Regions from separate parts of the Homo sapiens genome. Here regions 2, 3 and 4 are each linked to region 1. Evidence: promoter capture Hi-C in 16 types of primary human blood cells and fetal thymus (Javierre and others, 2016). All regions are on one chromosome and are shown on one strand. The core of a region is centred on a gene start or on the middle of the fragment in contact, and the rest is flanking DNA. Distances in the headings are between cores, read along the strand shown. Region 1 holds the start of IQCA1-AS1 (IQCA1 antisense RNA 1). Region 2 holds the start of COPS8 (COP9 signalosome subunit 8). Region 3 overlaps COPS8-DT (COPS8 divergent transcript). Region 4 overlaps COPS8-DT (COPS8 divergent transcript).

What was found. Contacts are between HindIII fragments. The CHiCAGO score rates a contact against its expected background, and 5 or more counts as called.
Region 2: a contact is called between a fragment that was not itself captured here and the fragment with the promoter of IQCA1-AS1 in region 1, in 1 of 17 cell types (neutrophils). The highest score is 5.5, in neutrophils.
Region 3: a fragment that was not itself captured here is called in contact with the fragment with the promoter of IQCA1-AS1 in region 1 in 7 of 17 cell types (M2 macrophages, M0 macrophages, neutrophils and 4 more); the score reaches 8.0 in M2 macrophages.
Region 4: a contact is called between a fragment that was not itself captured here and the fragment with the promoter of IQCA1-AS1 in region 1, in 3 of 17 cell types (M0 macrophages, activated CD4 T cells and M1 macrophages). The highest score is 6.6, in M0 macrophages.

What each region holds. Positions count from the first base shown.
Region 1 is chr2:236,389,391-236,392,598 of GRCh38, forward strand. It overlaps IQCA1-AS1 (IQCA1 antisense RNA 1), which reads left to right and starts at 1,684. Exons shown (of 2, transcript NR_174961.1): 1 at 1,684-2,078; 2 at 2,905-2,986. DRC11 (dynein regulatory complex subunit 11) reads right to left here. Exons shown (of 19, transcript NM_024726.5): 10 at 2,854-2,960; 11 at 2,586-2,681. RefSeq lists an enhancer at 2,004-3,203. The HindIII fragment of the contact is 7,674 bases long and covers 1-3,208 here.
Region 2 is chr2:237,085,342-237,088,549 of GRCh38, forward strand. COPS8 (COP9 signalosome subunit 8) reads left to right here and starts at 548. Exons shown (of 8, transcript NM_006710.5): 1 at 548-701; 2 at 1,786-1,856. The coding sequence starts at 624. It overlaps COPS8-DT (COPS8 divergent transcript), which reads right to left and starts at 480. Exons shown (of 3, transcript NR_187934.1): 1 at 1-480. RefSeq lists enhancers at 1-488, 129-678, 489-1,383. The HindIII fragment of the contact is 3,251 bases long and covers 131-3,208 here.
Region 3 is chr2:237,063,882-237,067,089 of GRCh38, forward strand. The region is part of intron 1 of COPS8-DT (COPS8 divergent transcript); the gene reads right to left. LOC105373950 (a long non-coding RNA gene) reads left to right here. Exons shown (of 3, transcript XR_007088140.1): 1 at 1-907; 2 at 1,576-1,655; 3 at 2,508-2,935. Among named protein-coding and RNA genes, the nearest start is that of COPS8-DT, 20 kb to the right of the region's middle. The HindIII fragment of the contact is 1,422 bases long and covers 917-2,338 here.
Region 4 is chr2:237,031,212-237,034,419 of GRCh38, forward strand. The region is part of intron 1 of COPS8-DT (COPS8 divergent transcript); the gene reads right to left. Among named protein-coding and RNA genes, the nearest start is that of COPS8-DT, 53 kb to the right of the region's middle. The HindIII fragment of the contact is 1,202 bases long and covers 965-2,166 here.

The sequences.
Region 1 (3,208 bases), core at 434-2,933:
AAGCGCAGTATTCGGGTGGGAGTGACCCAATTTTCCAGGTGCCGTCCGTCACCCCTTTCTTTGACTCAGAAAGGGAACTCCCTGACCCCTTGCGCTTCCCGAGTGAGGCAATGCCTCGCCCTGCTTCGGCTCGCGACCGGTGCGCGCACCCACTGACCTGTGCCCACTGTCTGGCACTCCCTAGTGAGATGAACCCGGTACCTCAGATGGAAATGCAGAAATCACCCGTCTTCTGCGTCGCTCACACTGGGAGCTGTAGGCCGGAGCTGTTCCTATTCGGCCATCTTGGCTCCTCTGCCTGTCATTTTTGTCTTGAGATATTTTCTAATTTCCCTGCGAATTTTTTTCTTTGACTCAATGGTTATTCAAGAGTGTGTTGTTTAATTTCCGCATATTTGTGAATTTTTCTGTATTCTTTTTGTTATTGATTTCTAGTTTCATTTCATTGCAGCTGGAAGTTACTTGGAATGTTTTCAATATTCTTATATTTATTAAGACTTGTTTTGTGACTTAGCATGTGATATATCCTGGAGAATGTTCCATGCATACTCGAGAAGAATGTGTATTCTGGTGCTGTTGGGTACAATAACTGTTAGGACTATCTGGTCCCTAGTATTATTCAAGTCTGCTGTTTCCTTATTGATTTTCTGTCTGGATGATACATTCATTACTGAGAGTGGGATAGTGAGTTCTCCTACTATTATTGTATTGCTGTCTATTTCTCCCTTCAGATATGTTAATATTTACTTCATATATTTAGGTGCTTTGATTAAAGGTGTATATATAATTGTTATATCTTCCTATTGAATTGACCCTTTTATCATTAGTTAATGATCTTTTTGGTTTCTTGTGATAGTTTTTGATTTGACGTCTATTTTGTCTAAGTATAGCCATTTCTTCTCTCTTTTGCTTATTATTTGCATGAGATATCTTTTTTCCATCCCTTCACTTTCAGCCTATGTGTCCCTAAATCTGAAATGAATCACATGTATATAGCATATAGTTGGATTTTTAAAATCCATTCAGTGACTCTGTATCTTTTGATTGGTGAGTTTAATCCATATACATCTGAAGTATTTTTTGAAAGGTAAGGACTTACTTTTGCCATTTTGTTAGGTTATTTCTATTTTGAGGTTCTTTTGTTCTTCTCTGAAGTTACAAGTTGCTGTGTAACTTAACGATGTTTTGTAGTGATATACTTTGATTCTTTTCTGGTTCTGGGATCCAAAGACAGGCCCAACGCTGATTTTTGTGGGTGGGCCCACAAAAATAAAGCAGCACAATGGTTGCAGTAAATGACTTGCTATTACTACACCACAAAAGTGGAGAAAGCTGCCATAGAAGCAAGGTGCACCCAGGGTTTGTGGGAGGCCCATGGTTCTGGGGTCCAAAGACAGGCCCAGTGCTGATTTTTGTGGGTGGGCCTGGTGTCAGGGTTTGTGGGAGGCCCATGGTACTGGGTTTCACTGGCCTGGTGCTGAGCTCCATGGTGAAGTCAGATGTTCACTTCTCTGTCCCTTTCTTCCAAGATAAAACTCATGGGTCTAGGAGATCTCTCTTGGCACTAGGCTGTGTGGGCTTTGGGGTGACATGGGTAAAGTGAAACTTTCATTCTTACTCTCTTCAGTGCATCTTTTTTTTTATGATTCTGTGCTCCACCCAGGTGCTGCAGCCTCTCACCTGAATCCCAGAGCTCTTGTGAAGTTACTTTCATCTATGGATGGTTATTAAATTGGTGTTTTCAGCTTACAGTGAAAGATCTTCAGAACACCAATTCAGTTGCCTTCAGGGTTAAACCATAATATCAACACAAAATGGATCAAGAGCCAGTCATCCTAAAAAGACCACATGCATGGCCCCTGATCTAGCAAAAGTAGTCACAAATGCAGCTGAATGTGTGGAAACCTCTAAGAGAAAATGTGTGAATCACAGAAAGAGTGGCTCCAGTCATGGAACGTGGAGAAAGCTGCCACAGAAGCAAAGGCTGCCTATGCTCATGCCAGCACTGACAGGGAGAACTCTCCGCCCTCTACCTTGGGTATTCTGGCTCCAATGACAGGGCTGTCTCTGGAATGAAGGTAGAAGCAGGGGCCAAACTAAATGAACTTCAAATACCCTGATCTAACTAGCTACTCTAAACCACTGTGAGATGGATTGGTGGCAACTTACACTTCCAATTCATCCAATTCCTTTCCCTATGATTCCCTCACTCACAAAAACCTGCTCATTACCATTGGCCTCCCTTATAGATCTATGTACAGGAACAGTTGGGGGCTGTTTGGGGAATGTGCTTTGGCTCTTTTGATAGTTCCCATTCTATCAGTGGGGCTTGGGTAATATGAATCTGCAACTGACCGGGGCTGGGGAGATGTTACTCTCAGATGGTTGGGTTTATCCTATTTATGAATCCACAGGCCCAAAGGTTAAATGGTGGACCAATTAAATTTACCAAAGGCAGGCATGTTTCCCCGTGAGGTGTCCTGGCAACAGGCGGCCCTCCTGGACATGCCACAGCATGTCAGGGGCTGCTTTTCATGACTGAATCCGCTCCACCGCACCCCTCTGCAGGCTCCTTCCCCACTCACCTTGTCCTTTTTCTTTCCTGCTTTCACTGGGCGCTCCCTTTCTCTGTCCACAGCTAGCTTTAAGTTTTTAAGTTCCTGTCTCATCAACTCATCAACCTAGGAGAATACAAAACATACTACTTTTAAGTCACTTTGCATGTCTTGTGTTTTGTTTGTGAAGTTTAAAAATCCCTTAAATTATGGGGTAGGTCATTAGTAGGAAATTGTAAAGAAGCACAATGGTTGAAGTAAATGATTTGCTGTTACTACACCATAAACGTAGCTGTACCTGTATCCTGATCTCTGACTGTAATTCTTTTCGTTTCTCCTCTTTGATCAGTTCTGGATCATAGTCCTGAGAGAAATTCCAAGACTCATCTTTTTTCATCCAGATTTCTACACTCCAGAAGGGTAAAGAAAAAGAAAAAGAAAAAATTTTAAAAAGATATAGGTTAATGAAATTTTAAAAAGACGTAGGTTAATTGTAAGTTATTGCAATATAAACATAAGCCTAACTTTATATGTTATTGCATAGGATAAAAGTTTGAATAAAATAAGCTGGACAGATGAGATTCATATATGTGCTTGTAAATGCACTAAAAAAAGAAAAAAAACTGCTGATGTAAAAATATTGAGTTTTAGTT
Region 2 (3,208 bases), core at 506-3,005, 700 kb after region 1:
CTGGAAGGAGGCAGGGGTCCCGGCTGGAGAAGCGTGGCTCCGGGGTGGGGCGTGCAGGGCTAGCCCGGGCGGGGGACGCTGCCCAACAAGCAGGTTTGCGGAGACTCACACCTTAGATTCTGAGTTTTTAAGCTTGTTTCCTCAGAGCAGGGAACTCACGAACGTTTCGTGAGCACCTACGGTATGCAGGGTACGGTGCGGAGCCCTAGCGTCACTGACGACCGGGACAGCCGAGCAGCTGCAGGATCCGTCGTGTTCCCCAGCAATTTTAATATTTAAAAATTCGTTACTGTTGCTGTTACTTGTTTTCTATGTATTGGATGTCTTCGTGAAGAACCCTCAAAAGTGCAACGAACTCCTCCCTGCCAGAGGGCGGCCGCGCGCTCTGAGTACAGCTTCCCGCGGAGCCGGCCAGGTCCTCCAGGGCACCGAGAAAGCCGGCCAGAACGGCGGCGCCCTATCCCGGCCGCAGCGATGTCTGACGGCGCCCCGGAACTGACGGTCTGGTACGCAGGGGCGCTCGGCGGCAACGGCGGCTTTAAACGTCATCGCGGGCGCGACGCCTGAGGGACAGTCTGGGGTTTGGCTGTCCGGACGGTGCAGCGGCGAGGCCGGCCGCGAAGATGCCAGTGGCGGTGATGGCGGAAAGCGCCTTTAGTTTCAAAAAGTTGCTGGATCAGTGCGAGAACCAGGAGCTCGAGGTAACCCTTTGCGTCGCGCTGGGAGAAACTGCGGAGTAGTCTTAGGCCCTGGGGCGGCACCAGTTTCCAGGGTAACGGGGTCTGAGGCTAGCGGGCTTTGGGAGCTCACGGGGCGGGCGTGGGAGGTGGACGTGTGGATCCCTGACCGCCGCAACCTGCTCCGACCGGGCCCGGTCTCCCCGAACTCGCCGGGACCTTTTTGTTATGTGTCTTCAGCTTGTGAGCCCGAAAACCCTGTGCGTCTTTGCTCCAGCACCTACCGATGAGCTCATATTAATTAGGCATCTTTCCTTCCCAGTATCGGGTTGGGAGAGGGTAGTAAAGTGGGTTTTATTAAAGATCTTGGTATACACACACACACTAACACACACACCGCAACTCACACGCACACCAAGAAAAATGTGACCATTGTAACCTTTTTTTAACTCACAAAGCCTTTCTCGTAATGTTGTCAAGTTAGCTTGCCATTTTGTCTTCAGTAAGACAGATGAAAGTTATGCAGCTGTTAAAGTTAATGTTTTTCTTAGACACTTAAAAAGGGTTTATATCATTAGTTTTAAAATTAAATAAAGGAGACAACATCCAGAAGCAGCAGCTCACTAATAGATAATAGATACTTTCCAGTTGAGTTAAAATGGAAAGAATTGTCTTTGCAACGCAGCTGTGGTGATTTTCTGTCTCTTATTCAGGACGCTTGATGTAATGGGCAGAATCAGAATGCTTCAGGAATCTGTCGAATTTGTTTCTTATAATAGTAAGATCATTTAAATGGGAATTTGAGAACTGGGGAAGGGGATCCACTTACATATTCTTGAATGTATAAAGAAACTGAAGCCCAAAGGGAGATAAATCAAAGCTGATGACGAATATAAACTTAATACTCAGAATTTTCGTGTTTGATACTTCTCTAAGCTGTTTCTAAATCTATAATAGGACTATAAGATTACTTATAGTCTTAGACTAAAAAGGCTTACTTTTAAAATTAGCATTTATAAAATATTATTTTAAAAATGAAAGTTAAAGGGTAAATGAGGTTTTTAAAATTTTGTGTTGTTTTGTTTTGTTTTCATTTTTGGCCTTCTAGGCCCCTGGAGGAATTGCTACACCCCCAGTGTATGGTCAGCTTCTAGCTTTATATTTGCTCCATAATGACATGTAAGTATGTTTAACCTAAAGCTAAGAGCAACAGGTTTCTCAAAGTTATATGGAAATATTTCTGCACTGAAGTAGCACCACTAAACATAGGCACAACGAGCTACCTTTTTTATTACAGTAATTGTTAACGTCTATTTCCTATTGAATCATAGGTTAATGAATTATGATTAGGTCGTCATTGTCTTACATATACTTTCTAGAAAACATTTCAATTTATTATGACAAATTACGTCAGTAAATTCATTTAACCTTTTTGTCTTTTTAAGAAACTTTTATGACCTCTATTTACTTAACTTCATATATAATCAATAAAACAAAAGAAGTGAAAAGAGAAGATTGCAGCCAAGAGGAATTCGTTACAAACATGTATGAGATTTTTTAAGTTTTTTTTGTTTTTAATTATTCCTATTTCACGTTCACATGGAAAAGTCAGAAAGCATAACTACTCTAGGCCGGGCGCCGTGGCACACGCCTGTAATCCCAGCACTCTGGGAGGCCAAGGCAAGTGGATGGCTTGAGTCCAGGAGTTTTGATACCAGCCTGGGGAATATAGTGAAACCCCGTCTGTCCTAAAAATACAAAAAATTAGCTGGGCATGGTTGCGTGTGCCTCTAATCCCAGCTACCTGGGAGGCTGAGGTGGGGAGAATCACCTGAGCCCAGAAAGTCAAGGCTGCAGTGAGCTAAGATTGCGCGACTGCACTCTAGCCTGAGCAACCAAAGTGAGACCCTGTCTCAAAAGGAAAGCATAACTGCAAAAAAAAAAAAAAAAAGTCTCCTATAGTTCTGTGACTCACTGATGATTCCTGATAACATTTTATTTTAAACTCTTCCAAAACCTTTCTTTTATATCTTTTTAAAAACTAAATTGAAATTTTTATTACACATATGTAAGGTTTTTGTTTTTGTTTTGTAAAACTGTCATTATATGTTTGTTGTAGTTCAAGCCTCCAAACCCATAAAAACTCCTGCCTCAGAAGCTGTGTCCCACTGGTAGGAGGGGCTGTAATCGGGAGAGAAGTGTTGTGTACCAGGCTTATTGTCAGGGAATGCTACAGCCTTGATAGTACATAAATTTGTTTACTTTTATATCCTAATAAATAATTTGGGCCGTCTATAAATCCTCGTGTTTTTAGTGTGCTGTTGCCTAAATTTAGGATATGGATTATTATTTTTAAAAAATTCACTAGAAATGGCAAAATATTACTTTGGTAAAAATATTTCATGTCCTTTTTATCTGGAAAACCACTATTGTTTCCCCAAAACAAATTCATATAAAACTAAATTTTACTTTGTGTTATGTGAAGTATACTTCTGTATGTTTGGCTTGGGACCTGGTAGTTTTTAACATTT
Region 3 (3,208 bases), core at 378-2,877, 670 kb after region 1:
AAGTTACCTAACCCCTCTGAGCCTTGGTTTCCTCATTTGTAAAGTGGAGAAAACAGCACTCACTTGATGGGGCTGCCATAAGGATGAAGTAATATGGTGCAAGAGGAGCTGAGACTGCTGCTTGGCAAACAGTGGACATTTGCTGAGAGCTTGCTGTGCACCAGGCACTGTTCTAACTACTTTACATGTATTAATTCATTGAACTCGCTCAACAACTTGGAGGTTGGACATCATTATCCCTACTGCAGGCAGTGACCACTCTACAAATGTTGGTTGCCATCCGCTGATCTTGACGCCTACGACGGATTCGCCTGGTAACTCCATCCACACTTAAGTTGGGAAAGCACTCCGCCCTGCCTCTAAGTCCGGGGACTCTGGGCAGGGTCCATTACATGACCTGGGTCTAAGCCAATCAGAGCATCTCACTACCGTCTCCACAGTGATTGGTCCACGTGGGCACATGACACTGCCGGGGCTGGGACTCCCCAAAAAGAGAGTCTCCCTTCTTCCTGCTGGACTAGCCTGAGACGATGCGAGGCTATCGCTGCCGCAGTACCGGGCGGAGGGCCTGTCTGAGAGGGAGCCAACCTCGAGGAAACTGGGTCAACAATGGACAACGAGACACCAGCTGTGTGACTTCACGTGAGCCCACGCAGGAAGCCTGCCTGCAGCCGGGACCCTATCTTGGCCCATAGCATCGGGGCTTCTCAGGGAAGCACTGGGGTGTAAGCTTCAGCCCCAAAATGCATCCCCACCCTTGTCCCCCTCCAGGCAGAGCAGAGACCACTGGGGCCTGCTTGCTGCTCGGTGGAGCCGATGTCTTCAAGGCCGGGCTAATGTCTCACCGGCCTCTCGGTTCCTTCCAGCTCCACTGACAGAAAGAAAGCAGATTAGATTACCGGGCGAGGTAATCCTAAGCTTTAGAGGTTCTTTTGAGGAACCTGCCACAAAGGCCAACCAGAATCCTTATTACACAAACCAGCAACTGACCTCCCTTTAGGAGAACAGGGCTCTATGATAGGAGCAATTACATTTAAATTCTGCAGTGAGATTGCTATTTAACAAAACAGCAAAATCATCAAAATCCTATAATTGTATGCATAATGCCACTTTGGCCTACTCACTTTCTGTAAAGAACTTTATTTTCCCATCCCATAATTAATATCAGTATCATATTCCATTGAAGACCATCTGTTTTACCAGAGCTATGTTATCAATCATCTCAAATTTCAGAACTTCACCCTGGTTTGTCCCCTTGATAGGGAAGTGAAAACATTGTATCAACAGTCATCTAAGCTGGCATGTGTGTGAGTGGGCCACAGGATTTGCTGGTGGATATCAGAAAAGTCATTTAACACAAAGTTCTGCTTATAGACTATTGCAAAATAAGTAGCTCCAAAAGGAAATTATTATGTTTGTAAAAACATGAGCACTTTCCTCTTCCTTTGGGCAAGGGTACGACGTTTTACTATCCACCCAAATTATGTTCACCAATGATTGAACTCTTCAAAGAATTCAAATCATGTGGATTTGAGCCTTCTGGGAAGGAAAACGAAATGCACCTTGACTTCACAGGCTGGAGGGCTGGGTGTGACAGGGCCCTCCAGAGAGCCTCGGGACAGAACCTCAGCAGATGGTGGCAGCTGAAGACACAGGTCAGTTCTCAGATTAACCAGACACCTCCCACCAGTCCATTCCTGCCTGTGGATGCCCTCCTGAGAACCAACTTCCAACCAGAAGGTCATTGTGGGTGGTACAGAGTGGGAATGAAGGACTTACATGATGTTTTTTGTTTTGTTTTGTTTTGTTTTGTTTTGAGATGGAGTCTTGCTCTGTCACCCAGGCTGGAGTGCAGTGGTGTGATCTCAGCTCACTGCAGCTTCCACCTCCTGGGTTCAAGCGATTCTCCTGCCTCAGCCTCCTAAGTAGCTGGGACTACAGGCACGCACCACCATGCCCAGCTAATTTTTGTATTTTTAGAAGAGACAGGGTTTCACCATGTTGGCCAGGATGGTCTCAGTCTCCTGACCTCATGATCCTCCCACCTTGGCCTCCCAAAGTGCTCGGATTATAGGCATGAGCCACCATGCCCTGCCAGGACTTACATGATCTTAAAGGCCCCCACCACATTCCTTACCCCTGGCCAGGAGAGTCAGGGGCTTTTCTGTCTTCCCTCAGGGTTACACTTGCCAAAGAGACCATTATTTCAATGTCCTTGACCATGATACCTCAAGACATTCTTGCATGAGTTGAGGCTCAGAAAACAGTACCCCAAAATATGGCACTTTGGTATGCTGAGGGTTTTTGAGTTAAAGGAAATTAAAAGGCCTCAAAAATAAGCTTTAGAACTAAGGTCTTTCTCCAGTCTCCTTTCAACCCCCTGTCTAGTCTATCTGATCCTCTTTCTTTCCTGAAGTACCAGCAAGGACTCTTTCTGCAATTTCTTTATCTAAGTTTTACCACTGCGCCTGGCTAGAGATGTAATTGTCTTAAGACACTCTTCCTAGGAATCTCATCAAATAACCAGGAAAGATTAACTACTGGAGAAGAGAAAAGACTGGGAATCATCACCATGCCAGACAGACTTTTCACCTATTCGTCTGAGGACAGCTCCAAGAGATGACCTGGGAGACTTTACCTGCATAAGAAGACAACCTTTGTTCACAGCGTAGTTCTGCCCCTCACCCTCCTGCCACCTGCCCCAGAACTCAGAGGAACTTTGTCCCAGGCTATTATCTATTCTTTGGGCTCACTCATTTTCCTTAGAAATCATTTACTACCCCTCTAAAATTTCCTACAGTCCCCCACTTCCCTGTCTCCTATGAAGAGGATATATAAGCCTCAACCATCTGGCCCTTCTTTGAGTCTCCTATTTGTAGGACTCCCATGGCCATATGCACCTTAATAAATGTGTAAGCCATTTTTCTCCTATGAATCTGTCTATTGTCAGTCACTTCAGTGAAACTTCAGAGAGGGTGGAAGGAATGCTTTCTCTCCACCCCTACAGATGCACTGGCCATATTCCATATCTTTCCTCATCTTTCATATAATATCTGAGAGAGAAGGTAGAAGTTGTCAGTCCTTTTAGAGACTAGTTTTCTTAAAGAACTGAATTCACTTCTATGTTCTACTGGGAAAAGTAAAATGCAAGGTCAGCTCAGGCTCTTGATGTGATTGGCTGCACGTGCATAGGGCACCATCTTTGGAG
Region 4 (3,208 bases), core at 316-2,815, 640 kb after region 1:
CCCACAGAGAAGGCTGGCTCCTCACCCTAGGCCACAGAGAAGGCCAGCTCCTCACCCTAGGCCCACAGAGAAGGCCAGCCCTCACCCTAGGCCACAGAGAAGGCCAGCCCTCACCCTGGGCCCACAGAGAAGGCTGGCTCCTCACCCTAGGCCACAGAGAAGGCCGGCTCCTCACCCTAGGCCCACAGAGATGGCTGCAGTATTGCAGGGAGACCCAAGCAAAGCCATCCCTGTGGCAGAGATGCTGACATTAACAACAAAGGCAGGAACTGAGACCCAGGTGGCACTCACTCATGTGGCACTCATTCCTGTGGCACTCACTCCCATGTCACTCACTCATGTGGCATTCACTCATGTGGCACTCTTGTGAGCCAGGTAGTCTTCTCCATGCTGGGCATATGATGACACATTGAACTCCTAACAATCCTGTGAGGGAAGTGCGAATAGCATCAAACCCCTCGCACAGATGAGGAGACTGTAGCAGTGAGAGATGAAGTAACTTGCCAGGCTAGCGTTCGTGGAGTTGGAATTTAAACTCGAGCAGCGTGGCTCCTGGGCTCATTCTCTTAACCCCTATGCTGTATTTTCTCATGGTATGGGGAAAGAGGAAGGAGGGAGGGAGTCAAAAGCCAGAGGCTGAGCCTGGGTTTAATTCGCTGGCAGGGCCCCCTCACACACACACCGCCAGCAGGGGAGGTGGCTCTTGTTCCATGTCCTGGCCCCAGGGCAGCAGTCCCGTGGATGGATTCTGGGCTGGGAAAAGGAGATGCAGGAGTTGCTGGAGGTATGTCTATGACTCTGTAAAGGGATGGTCTGAATTCCCTCCCAGACAGAGTGAAAGTCTCGCTGTGTGAGTGCCATGGACACAGCATGTGCACCCCTCCAGCCCAAGTGGTGTTATTGAAACAAAGGTCAGATCGTTTCCTATTTAAAAGCTTCTCCTGGCTCCCCATGTCACTCAGAAAGCTTGTTACCATGGCCCAGAGACCCCTCTGACCCCACGTTCTAACTCACCTCCCTCCACTCCCCTCACTCTGCTCCATCCTGTGGGCCCCCGAGCTCCCAGCTCAGGGCCTTTGCACATGGCGCAGCCCCTTCCTGAAACTCCCCTCCCTTGCAGAGCTGCATGGCTTACTCCTTTACTCAACACAGGTCTCTCCTCAAATGCCACCTTCTCAGGAGGTGCCTAGGACCAGCCTGTGCCAAGTCACCTTCTCCTTGCTCTGCTTCCTTTCTCCATGCACCAATGCCATGTGGAGTGCACACACTACATACAACACCTTGAGGGGTCCACACACAACACTGTGTCAGTTATACACACAACACCAGGTGGAGTCTACACACAACACTATATGGGGTATACACACAACACCATGTGGGGTCTACACACAACACCAGGTGGAGTCTACACACAACACCATGTGGAGTCTACACACAACACCATGTGGAGTCTACACACAACACTATATGGGGTATACACACAACACTGTGTGGGGTCTACACAGAACACCATATATAGTCTACACACAATACCATGTGGAGTCCACACACAACACTATATGGGGTATACACACAACACCATGTGGGGTCTACACACACCACCATGTGGGGTCTACACATGATGCCATGTGAAGTCTACACACAGCATGATGTGGAATCTACACTAACTTGTTTATTTGCTTGCTGTATATCCGCATCCCCCCCACACATCACTAGAACTTAGGTGGCACGAGGGCAGGAACTTGGATGTGTTCACTGCTGTAACCCCAAATGACTGCTGAATGAATGGAATGAATGAACACAAAGCGTCCTCCCCAGCTGCACATCTAAAGCAGGAGGAGCCCCTCTCAGTTGGCCCCTGGGGTGCCTGTATTGAGTTTCTCTCTGTGGATGCCAACCATACATGGCTGATGACGCTCCTGACAAAGCCCAGTGGAGGTTTTGGTTGCCTATTTCCCCTCTTTTTTAAGCTCTGTACCAAAATTGATTCAGATCATCAGATACAGGCACCCTGTTCCTACTTTGTTAACTTTTCTCCAAAACACTTCATAGAACCCTGAGTCAACATCCTAGCTACGGCTCCTATGGAAGTTCAAAGCAAGAAACAAAATTATGTCCACTTTTAGAATAATTATGTGAACTTTTTGTTCTTAGTAAACTGCTATAAGCTTAAAATGCATCAGCTTTCCCAAGCTTCCTATCTGGCCTGCTTACTGTGTAATTGCCATTTTTAATGGTAACATATTTTAACTGTATCACATCACTCTAGTAGAAGAGATTTGCAGCAATATTTACTTCTTTGGTCATATTGTTATCATGATGAATAAACGGGTATGGTAACATCAGAAGATTAAATTCTCTCTCTTAATGGAAAATTAACTCTGAAACCAGACATTCTAGAATTTCTGTTTCCTGGAGCAATGGTTCCTGATTTGTGGGCAGCAGAGCCCTGGGGGACACTCCAAGCCCCATCCTTCTTCAAGGAGTCTCGCAGTCATTGTAGGCGCCAAGTGCCTCCTGCATACTAACTAACAGTCTTGTGCACCAAGGCTTGACTGTCATGTAAATGTGTCCTCACAGGACTTTGAGATCAACAAGTTATGACCTCACATATGCTTTTGACAGTAGGTATTTTTCAATCAAACTGCACCTATTATCATGCAGAAGGCTCTCAAATAGCTAACCTCAAAGGGATCTGTGTGCTCTATAAAATTTAGAACAGCTTCTCCATAATTTGGAGTCTTTAGGAGAATACAATATATTCTAATGGAGATATTTATCATCAGAAGTTTACAAAGACATATGAAACAAAAGCTCAGTTGCAAGACATTAAGAGACAGTGCAAATAGCAAGCAATTAACTAGGAATTTTCTTTGGTCAAGTTTCTTCCCTGATATGAAACTCACTTCATGTTTAGCTTCCCCTGTTCTAAAAATCCAGCAACACTACAATAAGTTCACTCTCTGCATTCACTTCATACTATGTTCCTAATGCTGCACTGGCAACTTTGCTGCTCACTTTTAATTAAAGCACAAGGGTTGTGGGAAAAACGACTTCTGCAGGCATTGTAATCACTCTGAGGGACTGCTTTATCTGTCCTCTAACTCTCTATGTTGGCCTCTGAATAAAGCTGCCCTCAAATGGGTGGACAGTCAAGTACTCTTCATGGGGGTCTTAGTTCTAGAAGGCACAGAGATGACGTATGTGG